2 separate regions of the Homo sapiens genome follow, and region 1 is linked to region 2. Evidence: promoter capture Hi-C in 16 types of primary human blood cells and fetal thymus (Javierre and others, 2016). All regions are on one chromosome and are shown on one strand. The core of a region is centred on a gene start or on the middle of the fragment in contact, and the rest is flanking DNA. Distances in the headings are between cores, read along the strand shown. Region 1 holds the start of KGD4 (alpha-ketoglutarate dehydrogenase subunit 4). Region 2 holds the start of TRIM23 (tripartite motif containing 23).

What was found. The method cuts DNA at HindIII sites, captures the fragments that hold promoters and counts their contacts. A CHiCAGO score of 5 or more calls a contact.
Region 1: a contact is called between a fragment that was not itself captured here and the fragment with the promoter of TRIM23 in region 2, in 1 of 17 cell types (non-activated CD4 T cells). The highest score is 9.8, in non-activated CD4 T cells.

The regions. Positions count from the first base shown.
Region 1 is chr5:69,213,445-69,217,902 of GRCh38, forward strand. KGD4 (alpha-ketoglutarate dehydrogenase subunit 4) reads left to right here and starts at 4,316. Exons shown (of 4, transcript NM_033281.6): 1 at 4,316-4,427. The coding sequence starts at 4,386. The HindIII fragment of the contact is 3,043 bases long and covers 327-3,369 here.
Region 2 is chr5:65,621,485-65,625,669 of GRCh38, forward strand. TRIM23 (tripartite motif containing 23) reads right to left here and starts at 2,849. Exons shown (of 11, transcript NM_001656.4): 1 at 2,710-2,849. The coding sequence starts at 2,790. TRAPPC13 (trafficking protein particle complex subunit 13) reads left to right here and starts at 3,543. Exons shown (of 13, transcript NM_024941.4): 1 at 3,543-3,622. The coding sequence starts at 3,577. SHLD3 (shieldin complex subunit 3) reads left to right here and starts at 3,543. Exons shown (of 2, transcript NM_001365341.2): 1 at 3,543-3,622. RefSeq lists enhancers at 2,519-2,848, 2,979-3,058. The HindIII fragment of the contact is 4,327 bases long and covers 272-4,185 here.

The sequences.
Region 1 (4,458 bases), core at 598-3,097, 3.6 Mb after region 2:
TGCACTCCAGCCTGGGTGACAGCGAGACTCCATCTCAAAAAACCTCAGTGGTAGTTGTCTGCTATCTAAGGCTAACAATAAAAGGCTGTTACAGAGCTGTATGGCAGGGCCACCCCTGTATGGAGGGCAGACTCCAGACCTGTAGAGCCATCAGCATGCAATACTTGCCTGAGAGAGCCCAGGTACCTCTCTTCAACTGCTGAGAGCTGCTGGGTTGGAACTGTGCCCATCAAAACCATGGGGTAGGGCTGCCCCGGGGCTTTGGGGGTCCAACCCCCAGCCCAATGCATCCTGAAGGCAAGATACTGAGTCAAGAATTATTCTCAAGCTTCAAGAGTTAATGTTGTTGGCCTTTTGGGTTTTTAACTTACTTGGGACCTATTACTCCTTTCTTCTTGCCTATTTCTCCCTCTTGGAATGGGAATGTCAGTCCTGTTCCTGACCCATCATTGTGTTTTGGAAGCACATGTATTTGATTTCACAGGCTCACAGCTGCAGGAGAAGTTGCCTCAGGATGAGTCATGGCCTTGAGTCTCATCCATATCTGATTTAGGTGAGACTCTGGACTTTATAGTTTTGAGTTGGTGCTGGAATGAGTTGAGACTTTTGGGGCTACTGGGATGGATAAATGTATTTTTGGGTTTTTTTTGTTTGTCTTTTGAGACAGTGTTTCCCTTTGTCCCCCAGGCTGAAGTGCAGTGGTACGATCTTGGCTCACTGTGAACAACTTCCGCCTCCCAGGTTCAAGCAATTCTCATGCCTCGGCTTCCAAGTAGCTGGGATTATAGGCATACACCACCACGCTCAGCTAATTTTTTTTATTTTTAGTAGAGACAGGGTTTCACCGTGTTGGCCAGGCTGGCCTGGAATTCGTGACCTCAAGTGATCCGTCTGCCTCAGCCTCCCAAAGTGCTGGGATTACAGGTGTGAGCAACAAGCGTCCGATAAATGTATTTTGCATGTGAGTAGGACATAAATTTGGGGGGCCAAAGGCGGTAAGCTATGGTCTGACTGTGTCCTTCAAAATTCATCTATTGAAAATTGCTAATGTGACAATACGAAAAGGTATTGGAAATGATTAAATCATGAGTACAGAACCATCATGGATGAGATTAAGGCCCTTAAAAAAAGGTTTGAGGGCCAGGCACAATGGCTCACACCTGTAATCCCAGCATTTTGGGCGGCCAAAGTGGGCCGATCACCTGAGGTCAGGAGTTCAAAGCCAGCCTGTCCAACATGGCAAAACCCCATCTCTACTAAAAATACAAAAATTAGCTGGGTGTGGTAGAGGGCGCCTGTAATCCCAGCTACTTGGGAGGCTGCAACAGGAGAATCGCTTGAACCCAGGAGATGGAGGTTGCAGTGAGCCGAGATTGTGCCACTGCACTCCAGCCTGGGTGACAGAACAAGACTGTCTCAAAAAAAAAAAAAAAAAAAGTTTGAGGGAATGGGTTCCTTCTCTTCTGCCCTTCTGCCATGTGAGCACACAGTGTTAAACCCCTCGGATGAAGCAGTGTTCAAAGCACCATCTTGGAAGAAAAGACTGAGCCCTCACAAAACACCGAAACTGCTGGTACTTTGATCTTAGACTTTTGAGCCTCCTGAACATGAGAAATAAATTTCTGTGGTTATAAATTACCCATACTAAGGTATTTTGTTACAGTAGCACACATGGACTAACAGAGGAGCTAATCAACATTTATAGAATACTCCACCAAACAACAGCAGAACACTCTTTTCAAGTGCTTACAGAACATAAACAACATAGACCATATCCTGGATGACAAAATATCAACAAATATAAAAGAATTGAAATTATACAGACTGTGTTCTGACTACAAGGGAATCAAATGAGGAATCAGTAACAGTCAGATAACAGGAAAATTTCCAAATACTTGGAAACTGAACACACTTTTAAATGAGGCATAGGTCAAAGGAGTCTCAAATGAAAATTTTCTAAAAAGCATTGAACTGGGCCAGGTGCGGTGGCTCACACCTGTAATCCCAGCACTTTGGGAGGCCAAGGTGGGCGGATCACCTGAGGTCAGGAGTTTGAGATCATTCTGGCCAACACGGAGAAACCCTGTCTCTACTAAAAATACAAAAATTAGCTGGGCGTGGTGGTGGGCACCTGTAATCCCAGCCACTCAGGAGGATGAGGCAGGAGAATCAGTTGAACCCAGGAGGCAGAGGTTGCATTGAGCTGAGATCATGCCACTGCATCCAGCCTGGGTGTCACAGCGAGACTCTGTCTCAAAAAAAAAAAAAAATTATCGGCTGGGCACGGTGGCTCACACCTGTAATCCCAGCACTTTGGGAGGCTGAGGCGGGCAGATCACGAGGTCAGGAGATGGAGACTATCCTGGCTAACACAGTGAAACCCTGTCTCTACTAAAAATACAAAAAAAATTAGCCTGGTGTGGTGGCGGGTGCCTGTAGTCCCAGCTACCTGGGAGGCTGAGGTGGGAGAATGGTGTGAACCAGGGAGGCGGAGCTTGCAGTGAGCCGAGTTGGCACCACTGCACTCCAGCCTGGGTGACAGAGCAAGACTCTGTCTCAAAAAAAAAAAGAATTACCACAGATGAATGGATAAGCAAAATGTGGTATACACATATAATGGGATTTTTTCAGCCTTAAAAAAGAAATTCTGACACATTCTACAACATGAATGAACTCTGAAGACATGCTAAGTGAAACAAGCTAATTACAAAAGGACAAATACTGTTATGGCTCCACGTACATTAAGTACCCACAGTAGTCAAATTCATAGACAGAAAGTAAAATGATAGTTGTCAGAGGCTGAGGGAAGGAGGAATAAGTTTTTGTTTAATGGGTACAGTTTCTGAAGATGGTAACAATTGCCCAACAATGTGAATGTACTTAATGTGACTGAACTGCACATTTGAAAATAATTAAAATGGGGCCAGGCGCAGTGGCTCACGCCTGTAATACCAGCACTTAGGGAGGCTGAGGTGGGTGGATCACTTGAGGCCAGGAGTTGGAGATTAGTCTGGCCAATATGGTGAAACTCTGTCTCTACCAAAAATACAAAAATTAGCCAGGCGTGGTGGCGGGCGTCTGTAATCCCAGCTACTGGGGAGGCTGAGGCTGGAGAATTGCTTGAATCCAGGAGGCAAAGGTTGCAGTGACCTGAGATCACGCCACAGCACTCCAGGCTGGGCAACAGAGCGAGACTCCGTCTCAAAAAAAAAAAAAAAAACCACAAAAACAAAACAAAACAAAACGGGTTAATGGCCTCTCTGTAGTCACTGAATCCCAATAGACCATACCTGGGTTCAGTAATTTATATTTCTAAAAAGATCCCAAGACTTAGAAATCACTGATGTATATCATCAAACACATTGGTCAAGCTTACAATACTATATATAACCTAAGCATTATCACAGAACGTAATGTAACTTTTTTTTTTTTTGAGACGGAGTCTCCCTCTGTCGCTCAGGCCGGAGTGCAGTGGCACACTCTCGGCTTACTGCAACCTCTGCCTTCTGGGTTCAAGCAATTCTCCTGCCTCACCTCCTGAGTAGCTGGGACTACAGGCGCCCGCCACCACGCCCGGCTAATTTTTGTATTTTTAGTAGAGACAGGGTTTTACAATGTTGGCCAGTCTGGTGTCGAACTCCTGACCTCAAGTGATCCGCCCGCCTCAGCCTCCCAAAGTGCTGGCATTACAGGCGTGAGCCATAGCGCCCCGCCCGTAATGTAATTTTGGGGGAAAGATATGAGTGGCTTACATTTCAAATATTTCTGAATTTTTGAGTTATCTCAACTTGAAGCAAAGGCCCAGCAGTTCGATATCAGGAGTAATAAACGGTAAAGAAAACAGAAACAAATTACAATCAAGCAATGCCAATCAGCAAGAGAGTGTGACATGGCCCTTTTTAAGCCAGAGTAAACTCTTGTGAGCTTGCCACTAACTCCCATTTTAACGAAATTATTCATTTTAGGAAACCGCAAGGTTTTTTTTTTGTTTTTCTTTAATTTTTTTAATCTTTGCAAGAGCTGTCAGATAAGAAGGTTGTATTATTTATTTGGTTCCAGATAAAATTTTGAACTATATCGAAATTATAGACTGGCTTTCTGGAAAGGAAATGGTCCTAGACAATTTATAGGCTAATGAGCAGAGACCCACCTTAACAAAATTTTGTCCCCAAAACGAAACAATAGAACACACGTGGGTGGATCCTAGTAGGGAGAAGGGGTGGGCGGGGTCAGGCACAGGGGGCGGAGCCAGCCCCACGGCGGAGGAGAGCCCAGTCCGGTCTCCGCCTCCGTGACGTCCCGGGAAGCACCGCCCACAGCTGCCCGGGACTCCAGTGATCGCCGCGGCTCGCTCGCGCCCCGGAAACTGCCCCTTCTCGGGGGTCATGATGGGCAGCAAGATGGCGTCTGCTAGTAGGGTCGTTCAGGTAAAGCAATTTGTCGCGTTTCCGCATCTTG
Region 2 (4,185 bases), core at 1,599-4,098:
CCTGTATCTCTGATCCCATCACTATACAAAGATTTAAAAGAACTTCCTTATGCTGTTAATGTATTTTTCAAAAAGCACTAATAAAATTCCATTGATTAGCAAACCAAACACAGGTCCAAAAATAAAGTTACTAGACTATTTTGCATCAACTCGGTAAATAATACAGCAAGAAAATATTTCCTCAGTATCTATAAATAGGAATTGTGGTTAACAGCAAAAAACCCTAGATAGGAAAAAGCTCTTAATTTTACACTTCAAAAAATGCCAAAAAAGCTTCAAACTTATTACTTGTAAATCAAACTGTAATCAATCAGATATTTTATTTTATGTTGTTATTTATTATTATTATTATTTTTTTTTTGAGAAAGGGTCTCACTCTGTCAGCCAGGCTGGAGAGTAGTGGCCTGAGCATGGTTCACTGCAGCCTTGACCTCCCAAGCTCAGACAATCCTCCTGCCTCAGACTCCCAAGTAGCTGGTACCACAGGCATGTGCCACTACGCCTGGCTAATTTTTTTTTATTATTATTTGTAGAGATAGGATCTCACCATGTTGCCCAGGCTGGTCTCAAACTCTGGGGCTCAAGCAATCCTCCCACCTCAGCCTCCCAAAGTGCTGAGATTAAAGGTGTGAAACTTTCTGTGATACATTTTTAAATGTCAGTTATTTCACAATATCAGATTTTTTATCTTTTATTTTTCAGATGGAGTCTCACTCTGTCACCCAGGCTGGAATGCAGTGGCACAAACTCAGCTCACTGCAACCTCCGCCTCCTGGGTTCAAGTGATTCTCCTACCTCAGCCTCCTGAGTAACTGGGATTAACAGGCCCACACCACAATGCCTGGCTACGTTTTGTATTATTAGTAGAGACGGGGTTTCGCCATGTTGGCCAGGCTAGTCTCAAACTCCTGACCTCAAGTGATCCGCCCACTTTGGCCTCCCAAAGTGCTTCCCAGGCACTTTGTGCTTTACAGGCGTGTGCCACCGCGCCTAGCCACAATATCAGATTTTTATGTTACTGTTTTCTCTAATGATAAAAGCCATGTCATTATCAACTTGTTCACAAGCAAAAGGCCATTTTACACAGTATTAGCATTATATACTTCAACTTTTACCTTCCAATAAATACTTCTTGCTTTCATCTATAGAAATGACAGTGAGATTTTTTTAGTTTATGCTACTATACCTACTACAAATTATGGCATGAAGATTTTGTCAGAAAGGACTATTTCATTGCACAGTTCAGGAATATTTTACATGTTAAGATGAAAATGAACAAGGTGAGCCTCCAATGTATCAAATTCTGTGCTGTAAGAAACTGGAGTTACATCAGGCTTTGGTACACTTTTGAGACTGTAAGGCAAACAGGGTAACAAAAAAATAGATACTGCAATGATACCCATTCCAATTATGAAATAAAACTTAAACTTCAAGTTAATTCACAAACTGCTCTTCAAGTATTCTCTACTTAGCAAAAGCACAATTCAATAAATAAAATCTCAGTCACACAACATGCCTAATAATGAGGGCTCCTTTGCATATCAGATATGCCGTGTACCTGTAGAATAACTTCATTAGTACCTAAAGGTCATCTGAATCAACAACCACCAATATTCACTGATACTAAATTGTGGGAAGAAATGTCTCATTTGCTGTCATATAAAACCAACATTACCTGAATAATCATAGGTGTCTACTTTTCAAGATGTGAAAAAAACTTCATATATTACCTTGATCAGTAATTCATAACCCTGGTTGCACATTAAAATAACTTCTGGTAATTCCTAAAATATACTGATGTCAACCTCATCAGAACTGGAGGAGGAGTGCATCAGTAGTGTACTAAAACTCCTCAGTGATCCTAATATGTAGCCAGGAATGAGAATTATCAATCTCTTAGATTAGAGATGCTCCTGAAGGTTACTCTATAAACCAATGGGATCAGTTCTCCCCTCCATATCTTTCCGTGCACAACAGTGGAAGGGAAAAATGAGTGCCACATATTTCAAATGATTTTTTAGCAAATTGATTCTGGAGCATGTATACATGGTAGAATCTCAAACTTCAAGCATAAGAAAATTCATAAACTCTATCGTTAATGCCCAGCTATGACGATGCTGCAGACTTGTGCAAAGAGTTAATAGACTGTACTACTAACAGGGGAGGGGGCAGCTCACCCAATAACAGATGTCTGATTACAGACGCAGTACAAGAGCGAAAAGTACAGACTTTAAAGCCGGTCAACCCGGGGCTCTGCCACACACTGTTTACCTAAACCTGGGTTTCCTCCCTGTAAAATGGGAATTCACATCTACTTCATAAGTAGATATTAACGAGCTAAAACACCTAACTTAGTACGTAGTTACGATGATGATGACTCAATTTATAATACTAAGCTAATTAATGTCTGTTGAGTTTAACTAAAAGCAGAGGACCTGGAGAAAAGACCGGTCTAGGTCACTGCCACTGGCCCGCAAGCTCCTTTTCACAAATGTCCCGATGATGACATGTCATGAGCAGAAGACCAGGCAATTTCAGGCCATAGGAGAGAAAGGATGCAGAGGACAGGACGAGACTTGTAATGCCAAAAGGGGCCCAGAGGCCGCGCATCCCACCTATCGAAGCCTGGGCCGCGGCGATGCCGCCAGGTCTCCAGGATGAACCGAAGGGAGGCCGATGGTGGAGAATAGAGCACGCAAGGTCCCTCACCTTCACTACAGCTGTCCCCCGGCTGCCCTGCCGGCCACTGTCTACTCCCGCTCCGAGCTTGTTTACAACCAGGGTAGCCATCCTCGCAGGGGAAGCGCCACAGAAACAGCCTTCAGAGTCCTCAACTGAGAGGCGGGGTTGAGCCACCTACCCAGAGGCCTCTGCGCACGCCACCGGCGCACAGGCGCAGTAGGACACTGGGCGCCGCTTAGCCGACTCTTACTCCTCCTCCCCGCAATCGTCGGGTGGTTAGTTGCACAGCCTCGCGCATGGGCACTTTTGTTATTTTTCATTATGTAGTCTGCAGCTGCTGGAGGAAAGACAAGAAAAAAAAAGAAGGGACAAAACGATTAAAGTTTTGGGGTGAAAACTCCAGATCCTTTAATGATTTTTCCTCTCGAATCCAAACCAGCCAGGGCGTGAACTGAGGGCGGTGAGGGGGTACGGGCATCTCCCTGCATGCAACGCGGTTTTTGTATAAACTACAAATCCCAGCATGCCACTCTCTCTCTCTCTCTTTTTTTTTTTTTTTTTTTTTTTTAAAAAAAAAACTCCGGCAACGTTGGCCTTTGGGAGGCCGCGTATTGTTACCTAGGGGTGGTTTCTTTTCCTGCAGTCGCGATGTGTGATTGCAGATGGAAAACAAAGTATTTTATGCCTACGTTTCTAAGATAGAAGAAATGGACTTGTTGAAAAGAAGCCAGTTTGTAAAGGACACAGTAGGAGAATTTAAGGTACCACCACCAGAGAGAGGTTGAGAGTGCGTTTGACTTTTGGTTTTGCCAAACGCGAGGTTTTCCGTTTCCTTCCGGGGCAAGTTGAACCTGTCCAGCCCCCGTAGGCTGTGGGTCAAAAGTGCCGGTCAAAATGGAAGTGAATCCCCCTAAACAGGAGCACCTGCTGGCGCTAAAAGGTAAACTTTTGCGAACCTGATTCCCCCTTTTCTGTTTCCTTGCATTCCCTACTTATCGAAGCCTTTGCCATGTAGGCCTCATCCTTCTTAAACACTCAGTGCTCGCCCTCCTGCTCTGTCCTTTGCCGCCAAGCGGGAGGAAGCGATTTCTCCTGGATGCTTTTTAGGTTTATGGGCCCCTTTCTAGAACGAAATAGATACCTGGTAAATCGTTCTTTCTGATCTGTGCTGCTTCAGTCACGAGATTTTAGCCGCAGAAGCTGACGTCCCGCTCCTACCGTGGAGATCTCTGTGAATTACAGCGGGCATCCAAAGTGCTTTTTCCTTCTGTCTCTTGTTTCTTCCTGTGGCACTGACGAAGTTAATCAGGCTTCAGCTTCCCCTGTAAAATTAGTATTGCATGACAGTAGTGCAGAGAATTTAGCAATACATAGTAATACAACATATAACTTAGATTTATTCAAAACAAACTGCAGTTTACTTCAAATCACTGTGTATGTGGGAAATATGTCCGAGATCTAATGTCAACTCTCATTTTTTGTACACAGCCATTTTGAGTAAGT